Linked DNA regions of Homo sapiens: all the other regions are linked to region 1. Evidence: promoter capture Hi-C in 16 types of primary human blood cells and fetal thymus (Javierre and others, 2016). All regions are on one chromosome and are shown on one strand. The core of a region is centred on a gene start or on the middle of the fragment in contact, and the rest is flanking DNA. Distances in the headings are between cores, read along the strand shown. Region 1 holds the start of PCDH9 (protocadherin 9). Region 2 has its middle 620 kb from the start of DIAPH3-AS1. Region 3 overlaps DIAPH3 (diaphanous related formin 3). Region 4 overlaps LOC105370228 (a long non-coding RNA gene). Region 5 overlaps TDRD3 (tudor domain containing 3). Region 6 overlaps TDRD3 (tudor domain containing 3). Region 7 overlaps TDRD3 (tudor domain containing 3).

The links. The method cuts DNA at HindIII sites, captures the fragments that hold promoters and counts their contacts. A CHiCAGO score of 5 or more calls a contact.
Region 2: a fragment that was not itself captured here is called in contact with the fragment with the promoter of PCDH9 in region 1 in 1 of 17 cell types (total CD4 T cells); the score reaches 5.1 in total CD4 T cells.
Region 3: a contact is called between a fragment that was not itself captured here and the fragment with the promoter of PCDH9 in region 1, in 1 of 17 cell types (total CD4 T cells). The highest score is 6.1, in total CD4 T cells.
Region 4: a fragment that was not itself captured here is called in contact with the fragment with the promoter of PCDH9 in region 1 in 4 of 17 cell types (naive CD4 T cells, activated CD4 T cells, total CD4 T cells and 1 more); the score reaches 8.2 in naive CD4 T cells.
Region 5: a contact is called between a fragment that was not itself captured here and the fragment with the promoter of PCDH9 in region 1, in 10 of 17 cell types (total CD4 T cells, non-activated CD4 T cells, naive CD4 T cells and 7 more). The highest score is 68.2, in total CD4 T cells.
Region 6: a contact is called between a fragment that was not itself captured here and the fragment with the promoter of PCDH9 in region 1, in 4 of 17 cell types (naive CD4 T cells, non-activated CD4 T cells, activated CD4 T cells and 1 more). The highest score is 8.7, in naive CD4 T cells.
Region 7: a fragment that was not itself captured here is called in contact with the fragment with the promoter of PCDH9 in region 1 in 7 of 17 cell types (total CD4 T cells, non-activated CD4 T cells, naive CD4 T cells and 4 more); the score reaches 36.9 in total CD4 T cells.

The regions. Positions count from the first base shown.
Region 1 is chr13:67,228,442-67,232,212 of GRCh38, forward strand. It overlaps PCDH9 (protocadherin 9), which reads right to left and starts at 1,895. Exons shown (of 5, transcript NM_203487.3): 1 at 1,339-1,895; 2 at 1-134. RefSeq lists a silencer at 2,166-2,305. The HindIII fragment of the contact is 4,939 bases long and covers 1-3,562 here.
Region 2 is chr13:59,394,465-59,398,235 of GRCh38, forward strand. No RefSeq gene overlaps it. Among named protein-coding and RNA genes, the nearest start is that of DIAPH3-AS1, 620 kb to the right of the region's middle. The HindIII fragment of the contact is 4,044 bases long and covers 1-3,771 here.
Region 3 is chr13:60,152,282-60,156,052 of GRCh38, forward strand. The region is part of intron 1 of DIAPH3 (diaphanous related formin 3); the gene reads right to left. DIAPH3-AS2 (DIAPH3 antisense RNA 2) reads left to right here. Exons shown (of 3, transcript NR_046540.1): 3 at 1,115-1,224. Among named protein-coding and RNA genes, the nearest start is that of DIAPH3-AS2, 9.5 kb to the left of the region's middle. The HindIII fragment of the contact is 162 bases long and covers 1,691-1,852 here.
Region 4 is chr13:60,378,262-60,382,032 of GRCh38, forward strand. It overlaps LOC105370228 (a long non-coding RNA gene), which reads left to right. Exons shown (of 3, transcript XR_942002.3): 3 at 2,661-3,187. Among named protein-coding and RNA genes, the nearest start is that of TDRD3, 17 kb to the right of the region's middle. The HindIII fragment of the contact is 2,053 bases long and covers 909-2,961 here.
Region 5 is chr13:60,398,118-60,401,888 of GRCh38, forward strand. The region is part of intron 1 of TDRD3 (tudor domain containing 3); the gene reads left to right. Among named protein-coding and RNA genes, the nearest start is that of TDRD3, 2.8 kb to the left of the region's middle. The HindIII fragment of the contact is 910 bases long and covers 1,123-2,032 here.
Region 6 is chr13:60,436,151-60,439,921 of GRCh38, forward strand. TDRD3 (tudor domain containing 3) reads left to right here. Exons shown (of 14, transcript NM_001146070.2): 2 at 3,538-3,622. Among named protein-coding and RNA genes, the nearest start is that of TDRD3, 41 kb to the left of the region's middle. The HindIII fragment of the contact is 3,464 bases long and covers 98-3,561 here.
Region 7 is chr13:60,456,555-60,460,325 of GRCh38, forward strand. All of the region lies in intron 3 of TDRD3 (tudor domain containing 3), which reads left to right. Among named protein-coding and RNA genes, the nearest start is that of TDRD3, 61 kb to the left of the region's middle. The HindIII fragment of the contact is 6,261 bases long and covers 1-3,771 here.

The DNA of each region.
Region 1 (3,771 bases), core at 645-3,144:
ATAATGTATTTATTTTCTTTTCCTGGATTTTAGGGTTTAAAGGTTTCCACTGAGGAATGATGCACAAATTGCAAGAGGAAGCGTGCATGGACTGGAGGATGCATTATATCTCATCACTTATTTGGAGACAGCCGCTGTCAACACAATTGTATAGACAATATTATTCTTCAGTAAATAAAAACACACCGTCACAAAATATCACCACACATTTTCCCCTGAACATTAGTAAACATGGCAGTTTGCTCTGCCACTGTTTGCAAGTTTACTCTGTGGAGAAAAACACTAAATATCTCCTGCTGGTTGCATTTGCCGGGAGAAAATAAAATTTTCTACTTTTGAATTAAGGACAGCTGCTATTTTTACCTATATTCACGCACGTTGTTTTTCAGAATACTGTTTAATTCAAAACATGCATTCTTGTTCTCCTCTTCCCCTCCCCCTGTCTCACCCTCCTCCTAGCCTCTAACCTACCTCCCTCAGTCTTTTCAGGTGCAAGTGAAAAACACTAAGTATTTAGCTACGGTTCCTGCTAATTGCTTTGTCACATGTCAAATGTGTTTTCTTCTCTGCCCCACTGAGTCACCTATCTTTTCTAAAAAGGCTATCTTTTTCTTTCCTCCCAGTTCTTCAACTGCCTTCTAATACAATCTTACTGGGAAACGAGCATCCGGACATGCCGCTGCAGCGGCATCAGAAGCAATAGTCACCGGCCTCTACACATCCTCATTGCCTAAAAGCACAACAACAAGACTTCAGATTTCTTGCCCACAGCTTGCTCTCCTTTCTCCATATTGACAAATTATCCTCATTAGGATTCATAAACACATTAAAACTTTTAAAAATGTATAATAATATAGGATTCATTTTCCTAGAGGTGGAAGAGAGTGCCGAGATATAAGTGAAACGCAGCTAACATTCCCATGTAACATCACAATATTTTCTACTGAACATAAAAGAGAAAAAAAATGCAATTTCTTAATCCTGATCTCTGGTTAGAATATTAGTAACATTTGCCACACATAAATACTGCAACCCAATCATGCAGGTAAAAAGGCTTCTGCTTAGATAACTGCAGTTTAAATGGGTGCAAGGCTCCAGGCAGCTACCTACTTGAGTAGGACTGGTCAGTTCTCAGGCTCTAATCTTATCTGCATTAGGCTGCACAGTAGCTGATGCCCGCGATTAGTTCCGGCAGAGTGATGCAGGTAGGGATGCAGATACAGCCGAGTAGGTGAGCTCTGCCCCAACCGTCTACCCAATTACAAGCATCTTTCGCCTACACTGAGGACACATCTAAACACAGAATTTACAATTGTGCATGCGAAACTTTACACTTACGTTAGTTGCCTCAACCTTTCCCCTTTCCCAGTATGCTGCAGTTAGGAATGATTTGTTCCAACACATAGAAAGCCATGCATCTGGTAGCACCAGTTTGGGGAGAAATCAGAAGCAGCAAAATGTTTCCTCCTTGTAAAATGTGTTGCTTCGGGCTGGCAAATTAGCAACTCCAGAGAACAAATTCACGGATTTGTCGTTAGTCATTCTCTCCACATTTCGTCTCTCTTACCCACTGGGTCTGGGTTCTTCTGGGCATTTAGCACACACAACACATAGTTGCACTTCTTCAGCTCAGGGATATTTTCCACAGCAGCATGCATACCATTTCCATCCGATGCCAATACTGCTTAAGTCTCTAACTTCTTGTAGGAAACGTCAGAGTTGCGGTGATGATGATTCTCTGACAGCTATCCGGGTGACAGTTGCCCGAAAAATTCCTAATCGGTTATCTCTTGCGTGCTTCAGAGACTCTGAGGCGCTCCTTTCCGTCTCGCGTGCTCTCCCTCTCTCCCTTCCCCTCTGCCCCTCTCTCCTTCTCCCTCTCCTCTCTCTGAACTGAATTTCTTGATATAACTCTCAATAAGCCCAGAGGGAGGGCGTGACTGCCCAGGCCCCGCCCCCGGGCTCTGATTGGCCTGCATCTTGCGGCGCGGGCGGCCGCAGCCCGGCGCGAGGGAGGGAGCGCGGAACAAGGCGCTGACTGTCTCCCAGCCTCCCCTCCTCCGCGCCCCCTCGGCAGCAGCGAAAACCCGGAAATCTGATCCTGGCCCCAGGAGAGCCGGGTTCCATGAGGTGCACTGAGCATGCTCTGCAGGGTCCGGCGTGGGAGGGACGCGCTGGCGCTCCCCAGGCCCGGGCGGAAGCGGCGCTCGCAGGCGCTGAAAGCGAGCGACCCTCTGAGCCCGGGTGGTCCGGCGGGCAAGGGCGGCGCGGGAGACCCGCAGGGCGCGGGCGCGGATCCGGGGAACCAGGGCCACCGCTGCGGGCGGATGGGGGTCACCGAGGCGGCTCGTCTCCAGGCGCACACTTCGCACATCTCTTTGCTAAGTGAAGGGGCCAAAATGCACAGATGGGGGAGTCTACCCAGGAACAGAGGCGCGAGACGTATAGCCACCCCTGGGTTGGGAGCACGAGCCAGCAGATCCCCGGAGCGCGTTAAACGGACAACATGCCCGGTGCTGCAAATAGAGGCTTTTGCTGGCAGGGACATTGGAAAGAAGGGCGGAGAGGGAGTACAGCGAAAGGTGGGGACCGCAGAATTTGGAATCTCTGCGGAGACCGGAAAGAAAATTAATCGGAGCACTTCCTACATGCAGAGCCACGGAAACTGCCTTGGAAAGAGAAAGTGGCAGCGTCTGGGTCCCCTCGGTCAGCCCGGGCCAGTCGGCTGCGCGTGCGAAGTCTCCTCTAGCGGAGCGGGACCGGCCGCGGCGGTGGATCGTGGCGGTCCCTGCACTTCTGCTCCAGCCGCGCCTGGAAACCTGAGCCCGGACTCGCGGCTGCTGCAAAACCCGCTTCCAGCCCACCTCACTGCGAACTTTGCTTCCGAGGGGCTGGAAGGAGTCCCAGGCAGCTGTTTCCCAAGCTGTGGAACACTTCCTTTCCCCTAGGCACTTTCTGCTGATTCCAACTTTCTTTCCTGTGATTTTCGTCTTTTCCCGTGCATTTCATTTCTCCGACTCCAGCTCTGTACTAAATCCTCACAAGTTTCTCGTTTTCATACGGGAACTGGATGGAATGACTCCCCAAAAAATACAGCTTTATTTCTCAAATACTGACCCCCAAAGCACTATCTAGTAATATATTTGATTGATCTTTCAAAGTCAGTAAACCACAAAGGTTTGTGTAATGGCTTGTACTTAACGCCTGATACCTGAGTAAAGTTTGAAGCATTAACATAGGAACAGTTCACTTGGAACAAAAATTTATTTTCTGAATGACCTATAAAGGTTGTCAGAGAAGGTCTTAGTACATGATTGAATAACTTGGTCTAACTTACAGGAAGAATAAAGGGCATTTATTTTAAACCTGTGTGTTCCCCATTCTATAATGGGCTGCCTAGGCATTAAAGGCTCTTGACATACTTAAGCTCTTGACTGAGGGCGTGTTGGAGATTACCCCTTGTTTTTGAGTACAATAGTTTTGTTTGCTTTTTTTCTTTTTTAAGTAACATTTGTTTTTAGACGTTTAAATGAAAAGTAAAAAAAAAAAAAAACACCAATCAAGCTTACTAAGCCATATATTGAATAAATAATGACATGATTTAACCAACTAATTTGACATCACAATTTTCCAACATGAAATTGTAAGCTCTTTTTAATTCAAACTTTTCTGAGTTAATATTCACAGTTCAACTGCAGTGTCTAAAAGCCCACTGTAAAATCCATTAATCCCTTATATGTAAAATATAAAATACTTTCCTTGCAGATAATA
Region 2 (3,771 bases), core at 509-3,008, 7.8 Mb before region 1:
TAGCAAGGTACTTATTTTTGTGTAAATGTCCTTTAACTCACACCACTGGCCAAACCTTACATTCAGCCTCTTATTATACCCTGCCTTAAAAAAAAAACTTGTCTTAGTCAGTTCAGCTGCTATACATATTAAAAAACAATATCATAGACTGAGCAGCTTAAACAACAGAAATTTATTTCTCACAGTTTTGGAGTCTGGGAATTCCAAGATCAAGGTGCTGTCATTTCCGGTGCCTGGTGAGGGCTTGTTTCCTGGTTTGGAGATGGCTGTCTTCTCATTTTACACAACAGAGAGTAAAGAGAGAAAGCAAGCTCCCTTAGGTCTCTTATGCGCTAATTCCTTCCTGAGATCTTCATCCTCATAACCTAATTACCTCTCAAAGGCCCCATCTCCAAGTACCATTTTGCTGAAGATTAAAGTTCTAACATGAATTTTAGGTGAGGACAGAAACATTCAATCCATAGCATAACTCTTACTTAAATGAGTATATACAATCAATAGCAGTTATTTCTATTCCTGTCTCCTTAGAACTTATCATACCTCATAGAACTGAATTTAAATACATTTCCTGATGACTAAATTGCAACACATTCCAGAAATCCATCAAAACTTGCCTCCCCCAAGCATGCTCAGATGCACTTAGAATAAAGTCCAAACTGTTTTTTTGTTCTGAGACGGGAGTCTCACTGTTGTTGCCCAGGCTGGAGTGCAATGGCGCGATCTCTGCTCACTGCAACCTCTGCCTCCCAGGTTCAAGCAATTCTCCTGCCTCAGCCTCCTGAGTAGCTGGGATTACAGGCACCCACCACCATGCCCGGCAATTTTTTGTAATTTTAGTAGAGATGGGGTTTCACTATGCTAGCCAGGCTGGTCTCAAACTCCTACCTCGGGATTCGCCCGCCTCGGCCTCCCAAAGTGCTGGGATTACAGGTGTGAGACACCGCACCTGGCCCAAATTCTTTTACCTTAAACAAAGGCCCCGCCTGATCTGTGCCTTTGACCTCCTCTTTATCTATTCCAACTTTACCTATTCCAGCTTTACCAGACTTTATGTAACGTATTTTTCCAGCCTCATTTTCCCTTCAGGACTTGGCATTTGCTGTTTTCTTTGCCTAGAAGTTTCTTGCCCCCAGGTCTTTGGCCAACTCATTGTTCATATCTTACCTCAAAGGCCACCTTCTCAGAGAGGTCTTCCCTAAACATCCTAACTCCTCTCTATTCTACTGTGCTGGACCATAGCATTTATCTGTATCTGAAATGTTTATTTACTTCTTGTCTCTGTCATGGGAAAAGCTGACCCCCTAAGTCTGGTCCTAAGAGCCTCTCCAGGTTCCTGGTTTGTTTTCCAGTTCTCTGCTGGGACTGGAGCCTGCCCCAAATCCTAAATTGTTTACCTTGGTTTTGATTCCCTGTTTTCCTCCCAGCAGCCCACTCTGCCTTAGAACTGGATCCAACTCTCTGTACTCTCGTGCCTTGTTCCGAGAGAGGAGCCTTCCTAAAACTTTTTTTTTTTTTTTTTTTTTTATTGTGACGGAGTCTCGTTCTGTCACCCAGGCGGGTGTGCAGTGGTGCGATCTTGGCTCACTGCAAGCTCTGCCTCCTGGGTTCACGCCATTCTCCTGCCTCAGCCTCCTGAGTAGCTGGGACTACAGGCGCTCACCACCACGCCTAGCTAATTTTTTGTATTTTCAGTAGAGATGGGTTTCACCGTGTTAGCCAGGATGGTCTCAATATCCTGACCTCGTGATCCGCCCGCCTCAGCCTCCCAAAGTGCTGGGATTACAGGTGTAAGCCACCACACCTGGCCAACTTCTCCTCTTTCAAAGACTCTTGCTGTCATAGCTAAACCTACTAGGTTAGAATCTTTGGATGAGACCTAGGGACTTGGATTGAACACTCATCTCCTTAAGAAACAGCATGAACATGAAAGCTGTTCTCTTACTTCTCTGGCATTCCTTAAGTTAGTAAGTTCTTTTGATTCTCCAGAAGTCCTTGAGGTTTTCAGGAACATCATCTCTGGGAATAGGAAATTTCCTATTAATCCTATCCATACACCAAAAATATGATTCAAGAAAGTTAATGTAAGGAGTATATGGTACAGTGAGGTGGTTAGTTGCATGAGTCTGGAGTCAACATCTTGGTTCAAATCCTAGCTATGCCAGTTACTTACCATACAACCCTGGAGACATTACTGAAGATCTCTGAGCCTTAATCTCCCACGTATACATAAGGGTCACAAAACAAAGAAATAATGTCATAATAAGGAAAAGTTGTTGTGAGGATTCAGTGAGATAATGTAAAGTGTTCAGATTCATGCCAGATCCATTCACACATTGCTTGTGGAGGTGAAGAATGATACAACCCTATGGAGGGCAATTTGCAATATGTACTAAAATGATACATGCACTTACCTTTGGTATAGCATGGCACCCATACTCACAGTTGCACCTCCACAAGTACAGCATAGGCACAAGATTATTTGCTAAGGCTTTATTTGTAATAGCAAATATTGGGAAAAACCTAAATGCACAGCCACAGAAGATATATAGATTGATAGATAATATTTATATATGTTTCCCATAGGGCAGAAAATATATATGTATATATAGACACACATATATATATACACACATATATACCTATGCATATATATATACACCCATATATACCTATGTGTATATATAATTCATGTATAACTTTTTTGCTTATTTTTAAAAAATAAAATATAGGAAGAACAAATCAGAAACTAATGAAAATGGTTTATCATAAGGGGTGGATGGAAATTTGGAGAAAGAAGCAGGAATAAAACTTCTGAACAGACACTTTAAATGAAGTTTTGCCTTTTGAATCATGTAAATGTTTCATAATTCTAAATTTAAATTTATATTAAAAAGGACTTACCAAAAGCAAACTCTTAAAATTGAAATCAAACAGAAACAAATGAATCTAACTATATATCAACTTGATAATATAACCACACACAAAAAAAGAGAAATAATTAAGTAGGTTTTGAACACAGTTGCCTTAGTAGAATTGTATCAGACAAATTCAAATTGTGGAACTTTCTCTAGGACATCTGTCCTGGAGTCTTCGAAAATATTAATGTTGCAAACTACAAAATGGCAAGGGAGAGCTGTTCTAGATGGACACAGACTAAAGAAACAAGAGAAGCAAACACAATGTGTTATCCTTCCTTGGATCTTGGATTTAACAGAAGAATGACTATAAAAAAACATTATTGGGACAACTAGGGGAAATTTGAAATTGAACTGCATGTTACAATATACTATTGTATGCATGTTAAATACCTTGGATATGATAATGATAGGGTAATATCTTTGTTCTTAGGAGATGTATGTTAAAATATTTTGAGAGAAAGTATCATGATTCTGCATGAAACTTACTTTCAAACTTTCAGCCAAAAAAAAAAAGAGAAAAAGCGAGAGAGAAAGCAAATGTGAAAAATGCTTATTATACTGTACGTTTGAAAATTTTTTAAATAAAATGTTGGGGAGATAATTCCCAAAAACAAGCAAACTAAAAAAGATCAGTTCTTTTCAGCTATTACTATCTCTGACTCCCCCAATCCGGGAGCCTATGAGAAGAAAACCAGGAATAAATACATATGGTTGATAAACAAAAAGGAAATCATGTTCTGGGATCTATTTTCAGCCTCTGAAGCATGTCAGTTGATAACTTTACTTATTCATTTCCCATGGGATTTACCTAAACAAATAAAACTGCCTCCAACTTTAAAAAAAGGAAGTGATA
Region 3 (3,771 bases), core at 522-3,021, 7.1 Mb before region 1:
TAATTCAAGAGGGTGTGTACTTAGACCACAGCTACTTGGATATATCCCACATCCCTCAGCACACAGAATGACCTCACACTTGGTACATTAATTCATAGTCTCCCCCTTCCTTTCCAGTATTTAAGATCTGTCATGATCCTCAAAGATGGAGAGATCAGAAAGCTACTGAGTATTAATTCCATTCACAGATTTACTTTTAGGGAAAGATATATATATATATATATAAATTGGAACCCTAAAAAAATCAAAATTGAATTTAAAAAAATCAAAATTGAATTAAAAAAAAAAGCCCTGTAAACCCAGGAAATGAAGAGTAAAGATTAGAAGGAGATAAAGATAAGAAGGGAGAAAATGAACATTTCAATGGAATTTATGATATTTAATGTTTTAAGCTTATTAGTGAGTATACAGTGTTTTACACCTCTTTTGTATGATACATACATGATAAAATATATTTTTTTAAAGATTGCAAGTTTCTTATTTAACCAAAAAAACTATTAGAAGCAAACTGTTTTGAAACACATTGTATACATCCTTCACTACTGATACTTACTAATCACTTTTACCTCATCACTAAACAAAGGACTAAGGTGAAAAACATTTGCCTGGTTCAGGTACACATCTAATTTCTTAACTCAAGTCATCTCTGGGTACCCCAAACTGTGGTCTACAGAGGCCTTCCACAAATTCTACTTAAGTCTTATGTTTTTTCAAGATTATCTTAAACATTAGAACTAAAGTAAGCATATTCTGGACATTGTGAATGACCCACTCTATAACCATGTTCTCTCAGGAACTTTTGGTTTTACTTTTGTAAATACTTTTGTATTTACTACCAATATGGTTCTCAATGAGGGCCAAGCAACATCATGACACAATAGATTTTCACAAGCTCTTCCACTTAGGAAGAGTTCAGTTCCAAATGGCTATTTATAATTCCAAAATCACATTATTCTGGAAACTATGCACCCACAGGTATGGAAAATTAGATTTCAAGAGAAAAATGAATATAGAAGCTGGAAGTATAAGAGTTTTTATTTTTTCTGCTGCTTCAACAGTTTTATAACATTTACTAAAAAATGTTTATATATGGCTATTTTCTTTTTAAAAACAGGTTTATAACAGTTCACTACTTCATCTACATCCTCAAGCCAACACCTATGAAAAAGATAATGGTGTCCGATGACAGGCCTCTGCTAACAGTGTAAGGCTATCTGTGAACTCCTCAGTCTACACATATCTTCCTCAGCCTCTGGGATTCCATTTCCACCCAAGAATTAAATTGATAGAAAGAAAAACAGCAAAATATACACATATTTTTCCACTATTAAATCCAATAATGATGACTTAATTTCAGCAAAACATCATCAATCGCATTAAATTAATGTTGCTGTTAATTTGAATTTTATGGGTTTTATAGTTTTGTTTTGGATTGTAGATGTAAATCTGTTTTAGTTTTATAGCTGTAAAAAGTGATAGGCATAAAGAGTTACACTTAGTTTTATATCTGTACATATATTAGTAACATTATTTTTATTATCATTCAAGTCCATATTGGAGTATCACAAGAATTTTTTTTCCTAAGTTTGAAGTTGTTTCCTTTATACGTTTTTTTGTAAGTTACATTTGTACCCCAAGTTTCATCATCCTATTATCCCCACTTTAGACATAAAGAACAGGCCCCTAAGAAAGCTTCAGAAACTTGCTCTGACCATTCAGTCATCAGATCAGAACTCTGCATCAATCCAAATGTTACCTGGTATGCCAGGATAAGAACTAAGAACAGAATGGCTCTGCCTCCAGCACACCAAGAGGAAATAGCCTGGTTCAATTAAGTTTTCCAAGATTAGAAAGCTTTTCAAATATCCAATGTATTCCTAATGCCCTAAAGTGTAGGCAAAAATTGTACTATTATTACTGTTACTACTAATGATAACAAAAACAACAATCCTATAAATGGCAAATATTTCCATAGAGGTTACAATGAGCCAGGTATTCTAGGCCCAAAACATAACTTTTAATCTTCATGACAACCCCATGTTACACATGAGAAAGGGGAGGCACAGAGAACGGTTAAGTAATTGCTCAGTTCACACAGCTAATAAGTGATATTGCTGGGATTCAACCCCTGAGAGTGGTTCAAGTCACTGCTCATAAATGTTACTCATAACGCTTCTTCTACAAAAAACTGTAAGAAAAGATAGCAGTGGGTCTTTTGAAGAATAAAATCTATGGCAAGCATTTCCAAATAGATTTCACTAAGTAACTAGTAACATGAATGTTTCAGGACCAAAGCTTATTTAAACTCTTAAATTCTCCCCTAAGTTAATAAAGACTATTCAATTTGCTATTTGAGAAAAATTACTCCCAATGGTAAGGTATTTCAATGCCATCCTGCTGCTACTGAAAGAAAAGTTACCTTTGTAGATCCTGTTCAAAGAAAGCCCATGCTTTGATCCTTAATATCCCATGAAGTAAAAGGTTATGCTTAATCTATATTTTATAGATCTAAAAGTCAAATTAGTTTCTGAGATAAACAAGCAAGAGTGTAAGGATAAGCATATTCTTTAGCATTCATTTGATTCCTAGTTTAGAGGATACTATGTGCTAAGTTAAAGACAATTACATTAGTGTAATACGTAGCAGTTTTTTCCTGTATTATTCTGCAGCATAAACAAGTTAGACACATGTTAATTTACATTCTATATAAAAAGCCAATTTTAAATCCAATTTATAAGGCAATAAATATATAAAGATTCTAGGACACAGCAATAAAGTTACGCCATAAAGTAGAGTTAATTCAAGACAACAATAATAAAAGCATGACAAATTTTAGCATTCCACCAACTGCACAAAGGTGTTTCAGGTAACATCTGTTCAGAAGCAATTGCTACAAGATAGACTAGATGAGATGCAAGGTTTCACCATGTAATAAATGTATGTCAGTTTGCTTGCTTCATAATTAAAGACATGAGTCTTTGAAAAAAGCAATTAAGCCCTGTTCTAAATCTGAGACAATCATCCCTATCTCTACCCCCACCCCTTTTTACCGTCAAAGAAAAGACCCAGAGTGGTCCAGGAGTATTAAATGCCATATGTTATCTACTTTCAGCAACTAAATGTATCCCCCAAAAAGCCACTTAATATATATTGTTTCTTTTGATAAATCATTTATTTAAAAAAATTTCTGGGTTTTTCTGTTTTATTAAGAAGGATAGAAAGGAAAGAATGGCTGGGAAAATTCAGAGCAATTTCTTAGAACAGCAGCCTGAATAAAATGATTTTACCTCCTTCTGAAGCTTACAATGCCTGGTGTGTGTTAGGTAGAATTCTGACACGAATAAAATTTAGGTGCCTAAAGCTTTCAACTAAAAACAGTATCTCAATTCTTGACAGTTTAACCCTAGGACAACTGAGAGCATCACTTAAGCTGAGAACTCAATGAAGGAACAAGTTCAAAAAATCAAAAAGAGCATTTAGATATCACCTCCATCTTTTCCCAGCTTCCTAGAAACTATAAATACAGAGTAGACAAAACATGAATGGAGGTTTTGGTTGTTATTCCAGTGGTGGTTTATTTTTCTATTGTAATTTGGTTATCGTCTGTCCTCCCAAATTACAAACAAACCCTCTGAAATAAAGTGAAGGCAGAGATTTAAATGAATCTGATGGTCCTCCTTGTAACTATACCTAGCTTCATTTCCTATGGCAGGTGTAACACATTACCACAAACTGGCAGCTTAAAACAACAGAAATTCATTCTCTCAGTTC
Region 4 (3,771 bases), core at 685-3,184, 6.9 Mb before region 1:
TGATGGCAGTAGAATTTTTGATCATAAGATGACACAGTTGGGGCAATGTCACAGAAACCAGCTACTGTGGAAATCTCAATTTTCAATTTTATTTGGTAAACATAAAATATGCCAGTGTTTGTTTTATGCATTAATTTTCTGGAGTTTTTGAAAGGTTTCAGATAGGGAATAAAATAATCAGTATTCTAGCTTTCCTAAATGCTATTTGATTTCTTTTTGAAATGGTAGCATTCCATTTAATTAAACAAGTAGATTGTGGTTAAGGGAATCAGATGAAGTGTGCATATTAAATATACAACTTCTATAATCTAGTGTAAATTTTTTCTCTTCAATTTGAAATACACCAGAGAAGTGCTTGAAATGGTTGTAAGAGAGAAAATCCAATTCAAACAGGCTGAAGAATGTATTGGCCTGTACAACCTAATTTCATCAGGTTTGGCTTGATTCAAGGGCTAAAATAAATCAAGTTATCTTTTTCAACCATGCTATCCACTGTGGGGCATCATTTTAAGGCCTCAAGCAGTGGTTTCTTGTATCTCCAGGCTTGTATCATCCCGGATTTAAACCTATGTAAAAAGGGAACATGTCTCTTACTGGTAACTCCAGCAGAATCTTAGATGCTATTTTTACTGGACCAACTGGGGTCATATTCCCATTCCAAATCAAATTATCCCCTAGGGGAAATTAGTAGTCTGACTGGCCAGGCCTGAGTCATATGCTTCATCCCTGGAACAAGAGATGAAATTGTACCTGAACCACATGGATGCAAGAGTTGCAGAGAAATGGGAACCCAAAAGAAGTTCAAATACAAAACTGCTAGCAAAAGCGGGGTAATGACTTAAGAAAATCATCTGGAACCTACCCTTTGATTAACTTAACATCACTACACATCTTTCTTCATGTAGATAAGCTTCCAAACATGTCTTAATTTGCCACGTAATGACACACTTTCATGTGTACTCATGCCTTCCCGCAAGTGAGACAACTCAGCATTTGGTACAATTACTGCATCTAACTATAAATCTATAATATCTCGGTTATGCATGTGTATTAGTTCATTCTTACACTGCTATAAAGAAATACCTGAGACTGGGTAATTTATAAAGAAAAGAGGTTTAATTGGCTCACGGTTCTGCAGGCTGTACAGGAAGCATGGCAGCATCTGCTTCTAGGGAGGCCTCAGGGAACTTACAGTCATGGGAAGGCAAAGGGGAAGCAGGCTTATCTTATGTGGCCAGAGCAGGAAGAAGACAGAGACGGGGAGGTGCTACATACTTTTAAACAACCAGATTTCACAAAAACTCACTCACTGTCACAAGAACATCACCAGAGGGGAAACCTTCCCCCATGATCCAATCACCTCTCACCAGGCCCCACCTACAACATTGGGGATCACAATTCAACATGAGATTTGGGCAGGGACACAGATCCAAACCATATCAGCATGTTTAGATCTTAATATAATTCTCATGGTCTGAGAACTTATAGATAAATGATAAATCTAATCCCTCCCAATACACTCAAAATGTAATTGTAGATAGAAATAGGCTAATATCAACTTAGAACTCTTTTAGAGAGGAGGATAGAATGGGAAACAACTTTAAGTGGTGACTGACTCAATATTATATATCATGTCCTGCAGATGAGGAACTTTTTGACTGGGTGGTAAAAGAAAATTTTTGGACAGCGAATTTAGCTGCCTCTTTTCTTCCCTCTGGAAAGCTCTCCCAAATCTGGTATCCTCCATAGATAATGAGTAATAGGAAGGAAGCCCCTTGTGGTGGATGTACATCTTTACACCCCACTTCCTGGTACAGAGGAGACAGGAGTGTGAGAGCCAATTGTATACATCCCTTCTCACCTCTGTATCCAGTGAAACATGTTGATAGCTTGAAATGGCCATGAAGGGAGTATTTATACCACAAAATCAGCAACTATGAATCAAATGCTCCCCATAGCCAGTATTACCATTCTACCAGGACATCACTGAGAGGAAGTGAAGGGATTTCTTAGGACTTAGGGGTTTAGTAATTATCAACTTTTGTTTATTAATCTTGGAATTTCTTTGGCAGCGCAGTTTTTAAAAGAATTTAGTTAGCTCTGAGTCTGTAAATTCCATGGGTTAATCACCAACTCTGTTGATGTAAAGTTAGAGTCTTTCAACATAGAAGCTGGGCAGGGGATTTGTACTTCTTAGCAACTACCTTCAGTTCCTTCTTTGTTTGCCTAGACCCCAGTTTCAGGACCTTTATCTCGGCCTTTGTCTCCCAGCACAGTGAACATATGGTCTGCCAGTGAAGAGGCAATGGCTAATTGACTTTTGGCCCCCAAGCTGCAAACCCAGTGAATATTTGCAATTAAAATAATTATCCCCTGTTGCAAGAAGAGAATTTATAACAAGTGATGCTAGGTAGGAGCCAGACCATCAGACTTCTTTTAAGTGCCAGTTTCATCTCATGCTAGGTTTCCCACCTCCTGCTTTGTTTATATTTCTCTAGCTTAGTGCAGATTATTTTATTTGTATAATATTGCAAACCTTCAGATCACTGAACCCTCAGCCATCTTGGATTATAGGGCATTGACAAAGAATGTCTTTCTGAGAATATTTTTAAAATCTTTCAAATGGGTCAATTTCTATGAAGTTGTTCTCTCTCTTGTAGGAAGAAAATCAAGAGACTATGGTATCTGGCAAGTCAAATGAAGAATATGTATCAGAGTGAAAGAAATGCTCAACTGTGTCCATTGTCAAGGCTGATTGGCCACAAAAGGGTAAAGAAAGACTGAGTACTGGATTTGGCAATCTGCAGACCTATGATGACCTTGAGCAGTTTCAAAGGAGTAATGGGGACAAAATGAGATGGGTTTAAGTGAAAATAGAGGAGAGAAATTGGAGAAAGTAAGTAAGTCTTTGACAGGGTTTTGGTGTGAAGAAGAGCTTCCAATATTATTTCTAACCCAATAAGCTTTTGACTGCATGCCCCTCAATATATTACTTTCAAAGAGAAGGGTATTTTTCTACTGGGTCTGTCACATTCCTGTAACTACTCTAATGAGCCTAACTCATTACCACCTTATGGAATCTATAGGTATTACAAAAATGAGTGTTTTTTTTGTTTTGTTTTGTTTTGTTTTTTAAAAAAACCCTTTTACCTTTTTGCTGTTAGTCAATAGTATAACAAGGGTCACAGTCAGGGCCATTTGTTGAGAATTTATGACAGCTAATATATATAGTGACTTGAATTACCCAGGATCCCTGAGTTCTTTTTATTACCTAAAATGATCAAGAAACAGCTTCTGATATATATTTTTAGTTTTATTGTTAATAAAATGAAGATTAAAAAATACAGATACAATACTGCAACATAAATAAAAAATAGACTTAAAAAGTAGTTTGAGGTATAATGAACAAAATTATACACATTCCAGGCATTATTAATCTATTTACATTTTTATCCACTATATTTAATTCCACTTATTAATACTTCCTGGGAAATCTCATTTTACTTTGTTAAAGTTAGAATAATCAATTTTAAAGCTATCATCTGCTGGAAGGTCTAAATTTGAGAATGAATGAATTTATGCAGGCTTTTCTAAGAGCCTTGAATTTTAAAAAGACTTACAGTTTATATATAATAAGGATCAACCTCTCCCCCACCGCTCATTTGTAGATAGAATGTGCATTTGGAGGTAATACTATCCTGGCTATTTGCTTGACATTTCTGAACAGAGCTTAAGTACAGGAAGTAATGAAGAGCAGTGATAATGGAAGGA
Region 5 (3,771 bases), core at 328-2,827, 6.8 Mb before region 1:
GCGAAATTAGGCAGTTTCTGGAATTGCGGCCATTACGGTTGTAATCATCCCGTTTAATTCAGTAACGCTTTTCCCAGGCTTGCACAGGCACATTCTGGGATGAAGGGTAGGAACGGGGATGAAAAAGATTTGCAACGGCTCTCTGCAATTACTGCTTTAGGAGAAAGAGTGAGGCATTAAAAGACCAAACAAAACCAGGGGGAATAGTGATAAACCGTACGTACAGAGGAACAGATGAGTGCACTGTGGAATGGGAGGGAGAGTTACTTTCCTAAAGTGGACTTGGAAAGATGGTAAGGAAAAGGCTTTCTAGCACAGAGCTGCTGGAGATGACACAGGGAAGCGCTTATTGTTTTGCAGAACCTACACAAGATCTATATGGTTCGTGAAAGATGTGGATTTGATTTTGTGAATAAAGTTTTTGATCAGTAGAGGGATATAATCACAACTGTGCTTTGAAGAAGCCCCTCCTGATTTTAAAGGCACTTGTGTTATTATACACCCCATTTTACAGGTGAGGAGACTGAGGCAAAGAGCTGTTAAGTAACTTTCCCAAAATGACATAGCTAGAAAGTGGTGGAGTTGAATGTTGAGCACAGAGGGCCTGGCTCTGGGCCTGGTTCCTTTAACGCTTATGCGTTATTGTTGTTACAGTTTTTTCGCAGAACAGCATGGGCGTAAAAGATTGTAGAGTTAAAAACACTGTCTTCAGTTTTGTTTCTGTTCAATAGGAATCTCTTCTTTCAGTTTTTTTACCCACAAGGGTGTCCTGAATAATCTTGGATCCCTCTTTCATTTGCCTTTCTCCCCATTTCTCATTAGGTTGAGCGTTGATCCTTCACACTAGTAATATTTTCATTTACAAACTCAGTATTTTACTGCTTTCCAACATGACCCCCCCTCCTTTGGAAAGATTAGTCTCATTTTTTAGGTCCCGAACACGTGTTGACTTTGTTTTCTCTGGCCTCTTATGCTTTTCCAGGGCAGGGAAGTGAGTCTTATTTTTCTCCTTATCTGGATTGTCAAGAAATGCACCAGATTGTAGGTTCTCTGTAAAGTCTAATACAGTTGACCTTGGAATGCCCCTGCCAGTCAGAATTCTCTGGGCAGGGCCTCTGCAGAAGCTTAGGTAGAGTCCCACCCTGCTTCGTTATATTGTTATAAATCTTCAGCAATGTTATATTGTAGCATTTGCTACTTTATATTGCAACTTAACTGTTTATGTTTCTCCCACCTGTCTGTGCTGCTTCTGTATGGCAGTGACTCATAAAGGCAGTAGTAATCTGCGGGGCTAAAAACACTATCTTTCTAGGAATTGTGAGTTTCATGTAATTCCTGCTAGGTCTCGAACAGACTAGGCATGAGGATCTCCTAGGCTTTCAGGTGGCTTCTACTAGGTCTTTAATTGGGGACTTACTATGTTAAAATTTAGAATCACAAAGGTTTAAAGGCAGAAAAGAGCACTGGAGGGAAAATTTCTGACTGAAGGGCTTTCACCAACTCATTTTAGTTCTTATATCCTGAGTTTGCTCTTACACTTGGGGTTCTCTGTTAACTGTCACTGACAAACCATTTTTCTTAGTATTCAAATCTATGTACTTAGTTACTTGTAGAAGCTAAAAAGAAGTAGATGCTAAAACATGGACACACTATTGTTAAATCTGTTCTATAGGCTTCACCTAAAATAGCAGATTAGGGAAATATTTAGTGCTGAAAAGTTTACAATTCTGAAAATGTGATCTTCAGGGGGGTACAGAAGATCTATGTAGACCAATCTGTTCAAGTTTACATTATTTTTAAGCGCAGTTTTTTTCCTTCTTAAGGTTTTAATCTTCATTAGAACCCCTATAAAAATCAGTATTTTAAAATATAACTTCAAAAGTAGCTACCTGGCGGACTTAAAATAATTTTTGTTCTTCAATGGCCAGTAGCACACAAACTATTAGATTTTGCTGATTTGAACTTGAATGTTCCAGGGCTTTCTACAGAGTAGTGATAATGTTTAAATAATGCACTAAATGGTACCTTGTAAAGCTTAATTATATGCATGGAATAACTTCACGGGGAGAAGAAATTTGACTCTGAATTTATCTAGATAACAATTTTACTCACTCTGCATTTTTGTTTTCTCTCTTCAGAGGTTCATTCTCCTTTAGGATGATATCCCTGATCACTGTGAGTGGAAATATAAAATTCTACTCACAGGAGAAAGATTCAAAATGTTGATCTCTGGACATTTTGAATTTTTCTCTTCCATCTCCTCCTTTGTTTGTTTGTTTTTAACAGAAACCTGTCACGGGGTACCTAATCAGTTGTGTTTTTGTTTTTGAAAATGTATCTTCTGGCTGGGCGCAGTGGTGGCTCATGCCTGTAATCCCAGCACTTTGGGAGGCTAAGGCGGGTGGTCAGGAGTTGGAGACCAGCCTGGCAAAAATGGTGAAACCCCGTCTCTACTAAAAATACAAAAAAATTAGCCAGGCGTGGTGGCAGGCCCCTGTAATCCCAGCTACCTGGTGAGGCTGAGGCAGGAGAATCGCTTGAACCCAGGAGGCGGAGGTTGCAGTGAGTCGAGATTGCACCATTGCACTCCATCCTGGGCGACAGAGCGAGACTGTGTCTCAAAAAAAAAAAAAAAAGTGTCTTCCATGGAATTAATGTTGCATAGCTTAACTCTCTCTCTGTGCATATGAAGAAACTGAAGCACAGAGAGTTTCAATAATTTGCTCAGAGTTATAAATGGCAGAACCAAGAATAGAGCCCAGATGTCTAGAATAAAGATTCAGTACTCATTTCCACCAAAAATTAACAGAAGTGACCGCATCTAATTTAAATTATTGATCAAAAGTGACACATTTAAAAATTGAAAATTGGGTTGAAGCATTTTGTGGTGTGTAAATTTACTTTCCTAGTCCAGGAAAGATAAAGGGCTTATTCTGAGGGGTGATCCTATTAGAATCAAATAAATCTTTGCCTTGCAGTGAATCAACTAATTGTGTACTAGGCTTATCTGAAAATCTGGTAAATTCTGTATTTTTTAAGGTTTAAGAATACAGTTGGCCCTCCATATCTGTGGGTTCTGCACCCTTGGATTCAACCAGTCACAGATCTAAAATATTTGGAAAAATAAAAAAAAATAAAAATAACAATACAACAACAAAAATAATATGAATAAAAAATAAAATATAATTTTACATAGCATTTACACTGTATTAGGTATTTTAAGTAGTCTAGAGATGATTTCAGGTATGCAGGAGGATGTGTGTAGGTTATATGCAAATACTACACTACACTATTTTGTGTCAGGGACTTGAGCATCAGTAGACTTTGTTATCTGTAGGGGCCCTGGGACCAATCCCTTATGGATACTGAGGGATGACTGTATCTGAAAAAGTGGGACACTGTATTGTGTGTCTTTGCTTCTTTTACCCAGTAGTTTGAGTTGAAGACCCTTTAAGGTAGCATATGAAATAGCATTTCCATTTTGTTCTGAAAGAACATGTAGTCTTAGGAAGCCCAGTTTTCTAACACCCAGGTGTTAGCCATGGAGTACTCCAGGTTTTGTTTTGTTTGTTTGTTTTGAGGGCAGAGATGGGATGGAGAGGATAAACAAAGGTCTCCTTCTTACCTCTTGAATTTCACTTTCCCCTTTGGGGTTATCTCCATTTGATTATTGGTGCTATCACCATGCTAACATCCTCTGGCCCAAGTGCATACATAACTCCTTTCCCTTCATTTCACCTTTGAACAACTAAGAAAGCCTACAGCTTATTA
Region 6 (3,771 bases), core at 580-3,079, 6.8 Mb before region 1:
TTCTGGATTCTAGTCCTTTTTGCATAGTTTGCAAATATTTTCTCCTGCTCTGTGGGTTGTCTGTTTACTCTGCTGATGATTTCTTTTGTTGTGCAGAAGCTTTTAGTTTAATTAAGTTCTACTTACTTTTTATTTTTGTTGCATTTGTTTTTGGGGTCTTAGTCATGAATTCTTTGCCTATGCCAATGTCCGAAGAGTTTTCCAATGTTTAGAATTTCTAAACCATGAAAATGTTTAGAATTTTCATGATTTCAGGTCTTAGATTTAAATCTTTGATCCATCTTGAGTCGATTTTTGTATAAGGTGAGAGACGGGGATCCATTTTCATTCTTCTACATGTGGCTTGCCAGTTTTCCCAGCACCATTTATTGAAAAGGGTGTCCTTTCCCCAATTTATGTTTTTGTATGCTTTGTTGAAGATCAGTTGGCTGTATTTGGCTTTATTTCGAGGTTCTCTATTCTGTTCCATTGGTATCATTGCGTATTTTTATACCAGTACCATGCTGTTTTGGTAACTATAGCCTTGTAGTATAATTTTAAGTCTAGCAATGTGATGTATGGGCCTTGTTTGAAAGAAATCACATATTTGACTTATGTGGATAAAGGCAAGTTTCCAAACCCTTACAACTCTGCCTTTAGAATTTTTGTTAGACTTTACCTTTTAATATTTTGTAGGGATGGAATATTTTTATTCTTCTGAAAACTTGAATATCTAATAATTAGTTGATATTAGTTTCCTGATCTTCTACGATGCAGAAGGGAACAGCATGACTGCTTTTATCAACTGAGTTTTATACCTGTTCTTGTTTAATGTACTTTGGAGCTCACCAATTGAATTTGTCTAGTTCTGCTTTTGTCTGTGTGAGCTGAAGTATCTAGCTGATTAGGAAACTGATTTGGATAGCTACTGGCTTTTTTTAATGAGATTATCATATCACTAGTATCAGCATTAATTGTTTGATAAATTAAACTTTTTTTTTTTTTTTTTTTTTTGAGGCAGAGTTTTGCTCTTGTTGCCCAGGCTGGAGTGCAATGGCATGATCTCGGCTCACTGCAACCTCTGCCTCCCGGGTTCAAGCAATTATCCTGCCTCAGCCTCCCGAGTAGCTGTGATTATAGGCATGTGCCACCATGCCTGGCTAATTTTGTATTTTTAGTAGAAACGGGGTTTCACCATGTTGCTCAGGCTGGTCTCAAACTCCTGGCTTCAGGTGATCCACCTGCCTTGGCCTCCCAAAGTGCTGGGGTTAGAGGCGTGAGCCACTGTGCCCAGCTGAAAATGGTGTGTTATAATGGAAAGAGTGCTGAATTGGGAGTTAGGAGTCATTTTTGTTTTTAACTTTGCATCTTCTAAATTTGTATTTTTGGGGCAAGTTTAATTTTACATCTCTAGGACTCCTTCATCTGTAAAGTTGAAGAGGTGAATTTTGGTTATTTTTAAATTAAATTAATTTATTATAATATAAATAATCTATTATAATTTAAATTAATTAATCTATTCTAGTTTATCTGACATCCTATAATTCTTTAATTCTACAGTTTCCTTTCTAGAAAACAAAATATTCTATTAGTCATTACATACTATTTCCCTCTTGTGTAGGAGCTTGGAAAGCTGTGTTTTTGTAATCACTCAATCAGAATTTAATTTATCACCCATATCCTTTTGTGTACTGTTGCTTTCTAAAATTGGTCTCAACCTATACTTATCTCTTTTTTCTTCTCCATTTTCCAGCCAGAAAGCTCTAGGATATTATTCCTAGAAGGTGCTTCACACTTACTCACTTCCATGTTTTTGATTACACTATTCCTTTTCTGTGTTTTTCCCATCCCACAGCCACTTTGAGCTCCTATAACATTTTTATAGTTATTTTGGCCTTGTATGATAGCTGTTTATGTATTGTGTTATACTGTATAGCAGACTGTAAACTTCTTGAGGGCAGGTGTTTAGTTTTCATCATTTTACTAATCTTGTTACTGATTTCACACAATACTTTTCACATAAGCGGGGCATAATATTTATGAAAGTGAATTTATAAGATTATTAATTAGAGTTACAGATACAGTTGGACAATTTTTCATTATTCATAGTGAAAAATTAACAGGATAATAAATTATTATAGCCATTTTGAGTTAAAGCAGTATTTTAACCATCAAAATTGACTGCAGATATTTGTATTCCATGGTCACTTATATACTGTCATTCCTGCCTACCATCTATTCATTCTTACTGACTCATCGATATATTTGTATTTTCTCTGTCACCCATTTAACTACTTGCCTTCATTTATCATTGTGGTTTAACAGTGTCATGGTCTTAAACTTTTAATAGTACCTCATTTTGTTAACATTCTTGGTTTGACTTAAATATATATTTTTCTGACTTTTATCGCCTTGGTCTTGCTCATTGGCTTATCTACTTTAATCTTCTATTGCTCTTCTGTACTGTTCTAACTATTCACATTTCTTTTCACTTGCTTTTTTACTTTGGAGAAATTATTCTCTACTTCTTAAAGGCACTTTTTTTTGGTTGCTATTTCTGGGTAAGGTTTACTTTGATAAGTATCTTAGAATCAGTCTAGTGTTGAGAGTTGATGGTGGAATTGCTGTTCATCAAAAATGAGCTTGAGTTAGATCTCTTAGACTAGCAGTCTTGGATCCTTTTAACTGTGGAAGAATGTCTGCAATGGTGATGGTACCATTAGCCATTTGGTTAAAGGGGTTGATACTGATTATAAAAAATGTGAGATATTAATTGGGGTTTTTACAAGTGGATTTTTGATGGTTGATTTTAGAATTGTTGAGTTTATCAAAGAGTTTCAAAATGTCCATGGGTATGGGTAGAGACGAATTTTTTTCCTTCAGATTCAGTAATCTCTTTACTCTTGAATTAATTGTCTCTGACAGATGCATGGCTGATTTGGACTGGATAAAAGAAAAAAGGGCAAATAAGACAATGCGTAAAAAAAACTGAAAAGAGATAGGAAAAGTAAAAGATGTATTGTAAAAAGTTGCCTATCTTTGTGTTACTTGGAATTAATAGCCTTTATTGAAGGATCCTTGAGAACCTTATGTGAAAGAAAGGGGACTTGAGAAGATAATGTGAGAAAGTCCAGAGAGAAGTTCTGCTGTACTCAGTTTAAAACAGTGTTTATTTTAGTTTTATTTTTATAACACATCTCAATCTCTTTTTAAGATCTTATGGTATTAACAGATACTTAAGTCGAGATTATATTTGTATAATAGCAAAGAGCAGCTTATACATCCCTTAAGTATATTGACATTTAAATAGCTTTTCTCAGAAAGCGTATGAATAATCCTATTGACACAATAGCTCTTTAAGGGTACAAAAGAAAAGTATGCACTGTTCATCTCTTCTATAAGACATAGTAAATAAACAGGGAATCCATATCCAAGACTCTTTCCCTAGTATTTGTAGCAGAAGCACTTTATAGTAGAAAACAAAATTGCATGTAGACTTAAGAATTTTGGTTAATTTTGATTTTAGATAATATTAAGCCATTTATTTTATTTTAACAGGTATCTTTCAGATGAAGGCATTGAAGCTTGCACAAGCTCTCCAGACAAAGTCAATGTAAATGACATCATCCTGATTGCTCTCAATGTAGGTTATATTTATTAACTTGTAAACATTTGAAATCTGGAAGCTGTATTCATAAAAAAGTCTCAGAGTAAATTGGGTTATATGATAACAAATATAGAGAACATCTTTCTTATTTTGTCCATTTTAAGTTGTAGTGATGATGTTTGTTG
Region 7 (3,771 bases), core at 638-3,137, 6.8 Mb before region 1:
AGAAGACTTGGGTGATCAAGATTAATCCTTTTTATTATTTTCATTTGAAATTGGTATTTTTTTTACTTTGGAGTTGCTCTTAACAGTAGTTGAAGAAAGATTTAGAAATTAATTCTTGTCTATTTTTGTGGATGTTTTAGATGACTTTTTTTGAGACACCTTTTTGTGTGTATGTGTGTCACCTGGGCCAGAGTGTAGTGGCGCAATCGTGGTTCACTGTAGCCTCCACCTCCCAGGCTCAAGAGATCCTGCCATCTCAGCCTCCCAAGTAGCTGCGGCTACAAGCACACACCACCACGCTTGGCTAATTTTTGTATTTTTTGTAGAGATGGGGTCTCCCTATGTTGCCCAGGCTGGTCTCAAACTCCTGGGTTCAAGCGAGCCACCCACCTCCATCCTCCAAAGTGCTGAGATTACAGGTGTGAGTCACCGCACCCAGCCTTAAGATGATTTTAGATTCAGGATTTAGGATCTTAGAACCATAACATTTAAAAAATTTTATTATGTATATTTTATCTAGGTCCATTACTTCCCTATGTTTTAACTACAGAGTATAAGAAACTGAATATTGTAAGCAGAATAATGAAAAAAATCGTTATATTTACTGGTTTACTCATAGAATATTTCTGAATTGTGGAACTACTAACTTAAGGCTTGATGATTCAAATTAAGAAGTGACAAGAGATTCTGTAAAATCTGTGGGTTTCTCAGGAGGATCTAATAAATAATACCTCCTTTCTACCTTGCTTTTGAACCAGTTAACAAGTACAAGAGTGGCATATGTGGGCCAAAATAACTTTATTACTGATTAAAATGTATTTTGAAGATGTGGCTTAGTGGGACAGCCAAATGGACGCATTAACTGAACCACAGAACATGTAGGCTTGTACACTCACTCGTAGAAGTGCCAATCCGGTGAGGAGGCTGAATAAGTGCCCCCTCCCTCATGTTCCCTAGCTAGGCTAGATCTCAAGAGGAAGATGAGTGAGGCTGAGGCCAATATACAGTATTTTCTTCGCAATCAGGTAACTCATTCCATAAGTGGGTATAGTAGTTATCTGAGGCTGCTGTAACAAATTACCACAAACTTGGTGGCTATAAAACAATGGAAATTTATTTTCTCACAGTTTTGTAGGCCAGAAGTTTAAAATTAAAGTGTCAGCAGGGTTGGTTCCTTTTGGAGGCTCTGAGGGAGTATCAGTTTCATGCTTCTCACCTAGCTTTTGGTAGCTGTAGCAGTCCTTGGCCTTTTTTGGCTTGTAGATGCATAACTTTAATTTCTGCCTTCATTTTCAAATGGTCTTTATACTCTGTCTGTGTTTGTTTCCCCTTCTCTTCTAAGGACACTCGTCATTGGCTTTAGGGCCCACTGTAATTCACAGTGTTCTCATCTTTAGATCCTTACCTTAATTACATCTGAAAAGAGCCTTGTTCCCAAACGAGGTCATATTTATAGGTTCTAGGTGGACTTGTCTTTTGGTGGAGCCACTATTTAACCCACTAAAAGAGGTGGAGAGGCCAGGAGTTGGATTAATTAAATAAGTAAACTTGCTGCTTGCTTGGAAATCGGCATTTGGGGGCAGGTGTTCCTCCTTATCCTTCATTCCCCAGATCTTTGTTCTCATAGTCAACCAGATGTAGGAGATCACCAAAATAGTCCTATTCCTGCCCTGTGTTTGCATCAATGGCATTGTCTTCAATTTGTGTTCCTTTGACAGAATCTTTTAAAGTGACATGTCCACTTTGTGAGCAATAGTGAGTAAAACTAGGTAATGTAATGCATGTGTCCATTTAACTGTACAAAGAAAAGGCAGTTTGTCACAACACATTGAAAGCAAACAAGAGAAGGTGTCATGTCAACACCCAGGGGACGTAGAACTCCCAAAATTCCATGAAGATGCCTAGTGACCTGTGTTGTATGGATTGAATAAGGGTGCCATGGTTGCTCCAGATATCGAATATTGGTAAAGTTGGATTTTTTTGACTACTAAACATTAAATAAAAGCAAATGTTTCCCTCCTACATTTGAATGGAAGTGCGGTGCCTAGGATGCATGAGTCTCATTTTGGAACATGTAGGCCTAGATCATCACCAACTGTGTGATGGTTTTTTTGCAATGATGAAAGTGGTCTAACTCTGTGCTCTCCATATATAGAACACTTGAAATATGGCTAGTACGATTGAACAATTTTTAATTTCACTTAATTTTAAGTGAAAATTTAAATAGCTACATGTGGCTGGAGGATTGTATTGGACAGCATAGGCTAGATATTTGTCAATGCCTAGGCTAAAAATATGGGATACCAAAATAAACAGAATTATGAGCTATAATAACCATAACATGCCTGTGATTTAATTTAAATGTCCTTATTTTAATGGCATTAACAAAAGCCAAATAAAAAGTTCATCCTGAATTAGCAGCTTATCTATACTTGTTAACAGTTTCGGACTTGCTTCAACTTGGAATTTTTTTTCGTAAGTGAAAATTAGATGAAATTTTAGATTATCTTTTCCAATTATGTTCTCTAGGCCTAAATTTATAATAACAAAATTACTCCTTTTTTAGGCAAAATACTGATAAATATGGAGTAGAAATTTTTCAACTTAGGAACATGCTTGCTTAGGAAATGTAGTGTAAATATTTGTCTATCATTTCACATTTCTCTTTGCTGAAAATATAAATTAATATGCACAGAAAGATTTTACTTAAAAGCCTATTTTTAAAACAGCCTTTTTCCCCTAAGGTATGATACTACTTAAAGATGTAGAAGTTGCCACTTTAGTTAAATTTACTTTTCAGACACGTAAGCAGATTTTACTGTTATTTCTCAACTTTGCTCTAAGTATATTTGTTTTATTTTTATCTTTGATTGAAATTTGGCCAACACATATAATACAGCATTAGATTTAATATCGAAGTTAAAGTTTTTATTTTAAAAAGGAAAATGTGAAAATATGTCAATTACAACTCATACTTCTTCAACTTTTTAGTTTTGGTGGTATTGTATGCTTCATGTATACCAGGAGAGGGAGCACTTTAAACTTGATGTCTCTGAACAGAAAACACTCTTTTGTTGTTGTGTTGAGACGGAGTCTCGCTCTGTCATCCAGGCTGCAGTGCAATGGCTTGATCTCGGCTCACTGCAACTTCCATTTCCCGGATTCAAGTGATTCTTCTGCCTCAGCCTCCCAAGTAGCTGGGATTACAGGTGCATGCCACCATACCCAGCTAATTTTTGTATTTTTAGTAGAGACGGGGATTCACCATGTTGGCCTGGCTGGTCACAAGCTCCTGACCTCAGGTAATCCACCTGCCTCGGCCTCCCAAAGTGCTGGGATTACAGGTGTGAGCTACCACACCCGGTCCAGAGAGCATTCTTTTGGATTGCTGCCATAAATTTGATTCACTTAAAAAAACTGCAAAGTTCTTTATTTTCAAGGTGTCCCTTAATGTAAAAGGAGGGAGAAGTGGGATTTATGGGTATGATTTAGAGTGCATAAGACTAACAACAGCAATAAATATACCTTTCATCCAGAAATATAACTGTTTTCCTAGGGTTTTCTTTTCTCATTACCTTCTGAAAATGAATTCAGAATTATTAAAACAAAATTGTTCTTCAGGAGACCTTTTTGAAGTTTTCTCTTTTAATACCAAAACAAAGAAAAAACTTGATAATATATAATTTCAGTTTCAATCTTAATTGAAGTTATTATAAATCATAAAGCATGACTATTAAGGAAAAGAGAAACACTATAAATGAAAACACAGCC